Linked DNA regions of Homo sapiens: all the other regions are linked to region 1. The links are contacts of gene promoters, found by promoter capture Hi-C in blood cells and fetal thymus (Javierre and others, 2016). All regions are on one chromosome and are shown on one strand. The core of a region is centred on a gene start or on the middle of the fragment in contact, and the rest is flanking DNA. Distances in the headings are between cores, read along the strand shown. Region 1 holds the start of ELOVL7 (ELOVL fatty acid elongase 7). Region 2 overlaps ELOVL7 (ELOVL fatty acid elongase 7). Region 3 overlaps ELOVL7 (ELOVL fatty acid elongase 7).

Region 1 (3,342 bases), core at 434-2,933:
GACAGCCTGGTCAACGATGCCTGAAACAGCACGGGACTTCAGAAAATAAGGACGAGCAAACGAACTCTAGGTGAGGCAGTGTAGGACAGTGGTTAACAGCTCCAGTGCTGGAGACAGAACCCCAGAGCTGGAATCTCCTACCGCTGAGATGGGTGTGGCCTTGGGCAAGTTACTTAACCTCTCCGTGCCTCAGTTACCTCATCATTAAAATGAGAATAATATTAATATCTACTTCCCAGGATCGTTGTGAAGATTAAAAGCTTTTACACAAGAACTGACATCAGTGCCTGGCACCTAAGCACTGATAAATGTCTGCCACGGGGTGAGGGGTGGATTTTATTTAGTTCTCGGTGACCTTGGGGAGACCAATTTCTGATCAGTAGTACGAAGAGAAACTACAAAGAAAGGGAATGAATAAGCGGGTGCGTGGTAAGAACGCAGAGGCAGCCACCAGGTATCGATGACCCTTTCGGAGCACGTAAGCAATAAAAGTGAGGAATGAAATAAAGGGTAATCCGAGAGCACAGGGTTAAGTGAACATGCTTTCCGAGGGGAGATCGTAGCAAGAGGGAAAAGACCACTGGCGAGGAACTCGGGTCGCTAAAACTGTTCTTCAGTCGACGCGGGACTAACTACACTGGGAGCAGGACAGGTGTAAAGACCCGCTCCTTCCCGTCCCGAGTTCCCCAGGGAGCTCCAAAGAGCGCTCTGTCCGCACCGGGTGAAGTTTGAAACAGCTCTGACTTGAAGGGGGAAAGCCCATTTCCCAACGAACCTGGGAAAGCCCATTTCCCAACGAACCTGGGAAAGCCCATTTCCCAAAGAACCAACGATACCTGGGACGACAAAACAACAGGCTTTCCTGTTTCCATCTCCGGCACGACCTGTTCCACGGCTCTGTATTCATCAGCCTCCTCCCGGCCAGCAGCAGCCACCAAGACAGGATGCGGCTCGGGGAGCCGAAGGGACAGCGCCCCAAGTTCATCTGGCCGCGGGAGCAAAAAAAGCGCCCAAAGGGGAAGGAAGGAAACAGAAAGAAAGGGGCTCCGGAATTTGGGGGGGTGGCTAGCGAGGCCAGACCCCGGAGCTGGGAAAATGACCTCCGCGTCCAAGGTCGAGCAGGTCCTTCTCCCTCCCAGTCCCGCCGGCGAGCACCTCTGCCCCTCCCGCTCCGCTCCGCAGGGCCAGCGCCGCGCGGGACCCCAGTCCAGGCTCCGCTCCGCAGCGCGCCCACCGGGCCCGACCTTCCCTTCGGGATGCTGCCGGGTGGGGGCTCCCGAGAAGGCGCAGGTGAGCGCCGCGGCCCCGCGCTCCGGCGAAAAGGGCCTCGGTCCTCCCCACGCGCAGGCAGCGGGGACAGAACTTCCCAAGCGCCTCCCGAGCCCAGGGAGGGCCTGGCCCCGCTCCCGGGGCCCCCGCACCCGGGTCCCACTTCTCGCGCGCCGCGCCCAAGTTCCTCCATCCGGCCACTCCCGACGCCGTTCCCCTCGGCTCTGCCTCCCTCCCCAGTCTCTTCTCCTCCGCGCGCCGGGAAAGTTTGGCCCCTGCCCGCCGGCCTGGAACCCCGCACTCACCGCACAGGGAGCGGAGCCGAAGCGCCGGGCGCGCGCGGGAGAGAGGGCGGCGACTGGCAGCGCGAGCGCGGAGCTCCTCACAGCGGCCCCCGCTGTCCCGGCCGCCGACTGGGTTGGAAAGGGGAGGAGGCCGCCGGGTGTCACCTGCCCGCTATCCCACCCAGCCGCGTGACGCGCGCAGCGCCGCCCCCTGCCCGCCGCCGCCAGGTGCCCGCCGAGGGCCGGAGGGAGGAGCCGGGGCGGCGCGAGGGGGAGCGGCCGGGAGGGCGGAGGCCGCCCCGGCCTCGCCTCCGCCGCGCGCCCTGACTCTCGGGACTGGGGCCCACCGGCCGCTCTGGGTTAGCGGGGCTGGTCGTGGCACCGATGACCTTTCTTTCCGAGAGCAGATGCCATCACTTGGGGGACATCTCCAGGCTGACATAGCAGAGTGGAAATTGTCGTCATGCGTGACTCATTTGGGAATGAGCAGTAGAAAAATCCGAAATGAGGAAAACCTAGCTGAGGCTGGAGGCGGAGAAAAAGGGGACTCCTTGCTTCTGAAAGGGTATTGGGAGGGTTAATTCGCATCTGAAATGGAAGCCAGACCAAGAGGAGAAGGCCCTGGGAGGGGAAGGCCGACTTGGTTCAGCTCCATCCCCTGCTTATAAGGAATAAGAAACTAGAGAATTGAGGCAGCCTGGGGGGCATGGGGAGAGGACTTTTAGAGCAATGAAGATTAGATTGTATATCATCTAACTTTGTTTCTGGTAACAGCAACTGCTGCAGGAAAAAAAGTCTAGAAAATTCATTTCTCGTTACCTACTGTTGGATTGGAAAGTGGGGGTGGGGATGAGCGTTCGGAGTGTGCACCTGCGCTTGGTTTATTTATTTTTTAAACGTACCTGGCCTTGTGTCTGGTAATGATCCTCCTAATCGCTGGTATGATTTGGATCATCAATAGCTGAAAGGCAAAATAGGGGCCTAGAGAAGTTCCCTGCTTCTGAGGCAAAACCAAAGGCTGGTGTTGAACTGTCCAGAAACCTAAAAAACAATAATCATTTTTAGTTGCAGTCCTGACCCAACCACCTCACAAATGTGGGCTTTGAGTTTGTATTGCGAGTTCTCAGCATGGAATCAAGAAACACAAAAAGGGGCTGGGAGCGTCAGGACCACCAGAGAGGATGGGTAGGGAGAAAAAAAAAATTGGGGTGTCGGAAGCATATTTTCCTCACATGTAGGGATTGCCTTCGGCAGCTTAATCCCACTACATTAAACAAGAGGTTTTAATGTTTTTATGTAAAACTTCGAAAGTGTCCATTGAAAGAAAAGCAAAAAAAAAAAAAAAAAAAAAAAAAAAAGCTTAAATTGCAAAGAATCTCGAAGTCAAAAAAACTAAAGATTTCTCCTTTCTTTTAGATAACTTTGCTTTCATATTAAAAACAGATCATTTAGTAGACTTAGGAAGTCTTTTGGGAACGGGAGACAATTGCCTAATGATACTAGCCTTTGAGTCTATCACAATTTACCATTTATATATACTTATGAAATTTCAAATATGCAGAAGCTCAAATGGATTCATTTATTTAACAAATACTGGAGTGCTGCTATGTTCCAGGCCCTGAAGTTTCAATAGATAACAAATTCCCCGTTCTCAGGGACTATACGTTCATTCTAGTTGGAGATGACAGACAATACATGAATAAAGAAGTAAAAAAAATGTAGTGTTCAGCCAGGCGCAGTGGCTCACGCTTGTAATCCCAGCACTTTGGGAGGCCGAGGCGGGCAGATC
Region 2 (3,342 bases), core at 487-2,986, 93 kb before region 1:
CAGAAGTAATGATTTAATCATTTGCTGATGCCAGGCACAGTGCTGGCCCTAAATAAGAGTGTTCAATCACTTTTCCATTTAGACACTTGAAGAATTATATGTACTTCTGTGCAAAATAATGGCCCATCATGGTGATGGATTCTCAGTGGGTGAGGTTACATCAGGTGCTTACTCAAACGTCATCTTACCTTCTTTCTTACTAATAGAATCTAATTTTGTTGGAGATGACAATGTGCCCATCTAGAAAATTAGTTCACAGCTTCTCCTGCAGCCAGAAATGGCCATGAGGCAGTTTTGACCATTGAGATGTAAGTGGAAGTTGTTGTGTGGGACTCCTGGGAAAGTCCTTTAGAAGGAAACAGACCTAGACTCTATTGTATTTGGTACCCAAGAAGGCATACAAAGACATCTTCTTCCCTGGTGGTATATGGTATATGCAGATTTTCTCTGTATCCCTGCCCTTCCCCAGAGTACTTAGCTACATGGCATGATGCTTTGGAATGACAGACAATAACTACAGTCTATTACACCCAACTGCTTCCTACAAGAAGGAAATACTGGAAAATGCTGGTGACAGGGAGCCTCGGGCTCCATGGAAGGGATTCTTTTCCAGAGGCTCTCATAACCAGGCTGATCATGTTACTCCTCCATCAAACATCTTCAGTGGGTCCTGGTGAACATTATATTTTGTTTCATCAAAGGTAACTACTTAATTTTAGGATAATATATATTGCAAATCTGTAATACACTTTTCACTTGTCAACAGGTATGCCACTTTTGTTTTTATTAAAATTTGATGTAGGCCTGTCTTTTTAAACTGTACTGTAAATTTTTTAAGGGCAGGGACCACATCCAGTACATTTTAAAGTTTCTCATGACACTTAGATGCAGTAAGCACCCTCAATACTGACTGACTACCAGTGAAAATCATGTCAATTCTGTCATTTTGGTTCCTAACTTAAATAACATCTATACAGAACATTATAATACATACATTGCTTTTTAAAAACTGGACAATTTCAAACATACACAAACGTAGACAGAAGAGTATAATAAACTCTTATTAAGTGAACCCATTACCCAACTTTAACAATTATCAACACCCCCTTTTCTTTTTACTAGAGTATGTTAAAACGAAATCAGACAACCTATCATTTTACATATACATACTTCAGTGTATGTATCTCACATATAAGGACTTTAAAATATATACATCTGCAATACAGTAATAATATCTAATATTAATAGTTTGTCTTTTAAAATTTAGTTCATGTTCAGTTATATCTGATTGTTATAAGAATGTCCTTTTATGATTTGGTTTGTTCAAATCAGGATTCAAATGACATTTGGTTAGTATATCTTAAGTCTTTCATCTACAAAAGTTGCCTTCTCTGGTTTTCTTTTTTTTTTTTTAATGTCATTTATTTATTGAAGAAACCAGGTCATTTGTTCTATGGAATTTCCTACATTTTGGACTTGGCTGATGGTATCCTTTTTGTGTCTTTTAACTCTTATATATTGTATTTCCTGTAACTAGTAGTTTAGATACAGAGGATTTATTAGATTCAAGTTCAAAAATTTTTTTGCCACGAATACCTCAGAGTATTATAGTGTATTATGAGACAAAACATCTGGTTGTCCCACTTTGAATGATATTAAGATTGATCACTGGGTTCAGTCATATCAGCACAAGCCATCCCCATCAACCTTTCATCTAATTGTTTTAGCAACCAGTGATCATTAGCTAGTCCCATTTATTAGAGACAGTGGGGATGGCAAAATATTCTTTTTTGTTAATTCTTTCCACTTAAAAAACCTTGCCTACTAACATACCACCAATTTTGAAATTCTGTACAACCTAAACACATAACTCAAATTCAAATTCCTTCATAGAGTCTTCCCTGTCTGCTAAGTGGCAGAACTGTCACTCATCTGGCACCTATCATCTACTGCCCTGTCACATAATTTCATCTGCCAGTTGGTAAGCTCCAGGAGATCCCAATTATGTTCTAAGTATCTTTGTATCCCAAAGATGAACACAGCACGTATACAAGAAATATGTAAAATAACTTTGATTGGTGAGTATTCAAATTAAAAGTCACCAACCCATGCAAATACATGCAGCTAGATTCCAAAATGAAAAATATACACACGTATACATGCAATACCACAAATTTATTATAATACACAGGGAAAAACAAACTCAAACTTTGACAACATCCACAGAATGTTCCAGTCTTTAAAAAGTTAGCAGAAATAAAGGGTAATGGAAAGAATATAATCTCGTAATTTTATACTTAAGGCTGTAAATGGCAAAGTCCCATAGATATTTAAAAATCTATATTTGTATTTATTTATAATATAGATATAGGCCCTCAAGGATTCATAGAGATTTATGTAATAAACTAGATTTTGGAACTATTTATTTTGTTGTTGTTGTTGCTTGTTAGGTAAGCAAACCCAAACAAATTAAGTCCTGAAAAGTGGGATGAAATCCCAAAGGAACTCTATGTGACCACACAGAACTCTTTTAATAAATATGGCCCATACAAATTCCATATCCAGTGAAAATCATTTTGATCCACAATCATGTTGATGTTTCTATGGAGGATACTTCTAGCAGCTGTGATTTCTTTTGTAGCATTCTGGCTCTCCACTTCTATTCATATAATTGAGTATGTGTTTTATTACATGTTAGCTTATAGGCAAGTTAAACATTTTAAAGACTACAGGGAGGTTAGGAGAGGTTGTATGATGAAGGTCGGAAAGTATGCAAGAAATAAACTCTCCTGTTTCATCTCTTTTATTTTTGCCTCATTTTGGTCTCTATACTACTTGGGTTCTTTGGAAATGGTGTGATTTCTAACAGCACCTAGCATACCTTCTCATTTTAGCACAGGTTAGATATGAAGAGCCAAACCTGGAAAACAGTTAAGGAGTCCTGAGACCTTTCCAGTGGAATAAATTAGAGCAGCAGTTTCATTTAGCTGTGCTCTTTTGTCCTTCATTCTTTATTTTCTAAAAATATAAAATTATGGCCGGGCACAGTGGCTCACCCCTGTAATCCCAGAACTTTGGGAGGCCGAGGTGGGAGGATCACCTGAGGTCAGGAGCTCGAGACCAGCCTGGCCAACCCTGTCTCTACTAAAAATACAAAAATTAGCTGAGCATGGTGGCGGGCACCTGTAATCCCAGCTACTTGGGAGGCTGAGACAGGAGAATCACTTGAACCTGGGAGGCAGAGGTTGCAGTGAACCGAGATTGTGCCATTGCACTCTAGCCTGGGCAACAAGAGTAAAACTCTGCTTCAGAAAAAAAAATAATAAATTATATATATATATG
Region 3 (3,342 bases), core at 290-2,789, 77 kb before region 1:
AAAGAAAACACACTTTTCAGTCTGAGCCAAAACTAGCTCCAAATAACTAAGATACACTTGCTGCAAAGATACAACAAATATTCAGCTTTCCTAAGCTCCTCTGGAAACAAAGGTTCATGGCTTTCTCCTCTAAATCACAGACGCTAATTTGTGACACGTGCTTCTCCCAAGACCCGGTCATCCAAGTTCAGAGGCGATCCTCACTAGGATCTGAAGTAGGAAGAGATAGGGCCCAGTAAGCACAGACTTCAGAAAAGCAGCTGAATTACCGACAGCCCAGGGGTAATGCAACATTCTCGTGAAAGTTTATTCATCCTCCTAAAGGAATATGGATGACTGTGCTTTGGGATAAAAAAACAAACAAACAAAGGTAAGATGTTTTCTGCTTTTTACTTCCTGAACTTGATTCATAAAACAACTGTCATCCATCTATATAAAGATGCAGTTTTGGAGTATATGACACAGTCACCATGCTTATCATAATCAACTGATAGCTATGTAACAGAAACTTTATAGAGTTTGCAAAATACTGAAAAAATAAGGTTATCCTATCTATTCTCTAAAGTTACTGATAATAAAAGGTAAAAAAGATAACAGTAGGTCTGCCTGAATAGGAGAAATAACCAAAGTTATCAGACAACTGAAACTACAGCAGTTTATTGGTTTCACTGAAAGATCAAACATTTAAGATCAAACATTTAAGATCAAACATTTACCAAATGTGGTGGCCATATACTCACCGTATCTAATAGCTCAATAAATTTGGAGAAGTAATAAAGCCAGCAGGTACGTGCCATCTGCAGAAGCACAAATAAATCTAAATTTATTTTGTATATGGAAGAAAAGCTTATATTTTTAAATTTTGGTAAAATATGCATACCATAAAATCTGTCATGTCAACCATTTCTTAGTGCACAGTTAAGTGGCATTAAGTACCTTCACACTGTTGTTCAACCATTACCACCATCCATCCATAGAACTTTTTTCATCTTGCAAAATTGAAGCTACACCCACTAAACTACATCCCATTCTCCCTCTCTAACCCCAGCTACAATTCTGCTTTCTGTGTCTATGAATTTGACTATGCTAGGCACCTCATATAAGCCAAATCATGCAGTATATGTCCTTTTGTGACCTAATTATTTCACTTAGCATAGTGTTCTCAGGGTTCATCCCTGTTGTAGCATGAGTTAGAATTCCCTTCCTTTTAAAGGCTGAATCATATTCCATTCTATACATATGCCACATTTTGTTTATCCATTTATCTTTTTCTTTTTTTGAGATGGAGTCTCACTCTGTCATCTAGGTTGGAGTGCAATGGTGCAATCTCGGTTCACTGCAACCTCCACCTTCTGGGTTCAAGCGATTTTCCTGCCTCACCCTCCCGAGTAGCTGGGACTACAGGCCCATGCTGCCATGCCCTGCTAAGTTTTGTATTTTAGTAGAGATGGGGTTTCACCGTGTTGCCCGGGCTGGTCTCAAACTCCTGAGCCCAGGCAATCCACCCGCCTCAGCCTCCCAAAGCGCTAGGATTACAAGCGTAAGCCACTGCACCTGGCCTTGTTTATCCATTTATCTATCCATGGACTCTTGGGTTGCTTCTACCTTTTGGCTGTTATAAATAATGCTGCTGTAAACATGAGTATACAAACATCTCTTCAAGTCTCTGTTTTCAATTCTTTTAGGTATATACCCAGAAGCAGAATTGCTGGATCTTATGGTAATTCTATTTTCAATTTTTTGAGGAACCACATGTGAATTTATTTTTAAATCCAAGAAATTAAAAAAGAAAAGCACCAATTTTCATTTTATAGAAAATTATACATGTGATTTTTTTTATTCTTGTAATTGTTCACTTTCTCCACCACAACACACACAATCTGATAACTGAGTCATCTGCTTATTCTAAGTTTACGTTCAGTGTTACAAACAGTTCACAAAATTTTAACATTGATTTTGAATTTCAAGTTTTTCCAAAGAGAAACTTACCCTCAAAGCTGTGGGTGACCGTGAATAGTCAACAATGTCACATCGAAATGAATAACCTATACCCCAGCCAGACATCACAAACTGCAAGAGAGCACATGCATATTAAGAAAGGAAAGCATTTTCCCAACAGCCACAACAAAGGTAGTTTTGATAGTGTCTCTTCATTACATTTTCAGCTAAGTCAATAGTCAGTGCAGAGGAAAAGGTAGCTGGAACAAATACAAAATGAACATGCTTGATATCAAAGCTTGATATCAAGAATTTTCAAAACCACAAACTCATATATTATTTATATAAACTGTGCTCTGACTAAAATGCTCATCTCTTGGGATGATTATTCTAATATGGTGAAGAATAAAACACTTGGAGTGTTTTGCTTAAACAGCAAATACTGGTAGGTGACTTATCTTAGGTTCATCTATGTATGTGTGAGTGAATGTGTTTGTGTACTCTTAAAGGGAACACTTGGATCTGAATCAGTCATTTCTAGCAATTTCCAGTCTTTCTACTTAGTCAATAACTAAACATGCAAACCAAAATGCCTCAATGTACTCATAAGATAGCTGCGACAACTGGGCTTTTCCCATCATTGGCTGGTGAGTGTGATGTGAGGTGGTAGTCCATGGCTCAGATATTATTAATAGTTTTACTGTGGATTCACAAGACAAGTAAAAGAGGAAAATGCTCGTTAACAATAAAAGTGCAATCTGGCAGGCCTTAATTCCAACACACCCACAAAGTGATCCAAGGCTGATGTGACAAGAAAGAGCCTATTGTTGATAAATCTGAAGTGTAATTCAAAGATTATAAAGATTATACTGACATTCTTTCAGTCTGATGGTGGGAAGGTCTTCTTTTAAAACAGTATCTGAAAAGGAAAAGCCAAGGGCTCTGATTTTAACTTAACACATATATGAAATTGTTGGCTTAATTTAGGGCACTGACAATATGATCAGTTCTTCTCATACATGCCAAATACCCCCTGGGAGATCTTCTCTCTCAGTATAATGGTTATATCCTTTTCTGCCATTGAACCATATTTTAAATTTCTAGTTTTAATTACTATTAAAGCTAAAATTAGAACTTTACAATTAATTAAATTCTAAAAACAAAAGCTTATGAGGCATTGTCAGAATAATATTCTGATTGTGTAAAGAAAAGAAACAAAGGAGAAGAACAATTATTAGACACTATAGTATTATAAAATGCAACATTCTTTTCTGAGACTAGCCTCTAGCTTGACTTATAAGATAACTTAATCACACTGTTAACTTGGTAAGTTATAAAATCTTGAAAATTAAGACTCAGAAAAGCACAAGATATTTCACGAATGAGAAAAATAGTTAACAACAA

The links. The method cuts DNA at HindIII sites, captures the fragments that hold promoters and counts their contacts. A CHiCAGO score of 5 or more calls a contact.
Region 2: a contact is called between a fragment that was not itself captured here and the fragment with the promoter of ELOVL7 in region 1, in 1 of 17 cell types (megakaryocytes). The highest score is 6.4, in megakaryocytes.
Region 3: a contact is called between a fragment that was not itself captured here and the fragment with the promoter of ELOVL7 in region 1, in 1 of 17 cell types (megakaryocytes). The highest score is 8.2, in megakaryocytes.

The regions. Positions count from the first base shown.
Region 1 is chr5:60,842,586-60,845,927 of GRCh38, forward strand. ELOVL7 (ELOVL fatty acid elongase 7) reads right to left here and starts at 1,684. Exons shown (of 9, transcript NM_024930.3): 1 at 1,575-1,684. RefSeq lists silencers at 1,356-1,415, 1,426-1,585, 1,606-1,905. The HindIII fragment of the contact is 2,652 bases long and covers 259-2,910 here.
Region 2 is chr5:60,749,635-60,752,976 of GRCh38, forward strand. ELOVL7 (ELOVL fatty acid elongase 7) reads right to left here. Exons shown (of 9, transcript NM_024930.3): 9 at 2,157-3,342. Among named protein-coding and RNA genes, the nearest start is that of DEPDC1B, 51 kb to the left of the region's middle. The HindIII fragment of the contact is 6,191 bases long and covers 1-3,342 here.
Region 3 is chr5:60,765,834-60,769,175 of GRCh38, forward strand. ELOVL7 (ELOVL fatty acid elongase 7) reads right to left here. Exons shown (of 9, transcript NM_024930.3): 5 at 1,990-2,070; 6 at 741-797. Among named protein-coding and RNA genes, the nearest start is that of DEPDC1B, 67 kb to the left of the region's middle. The HindIII fragment of the contact is 1,390 bases long and covers 845-2,234 here.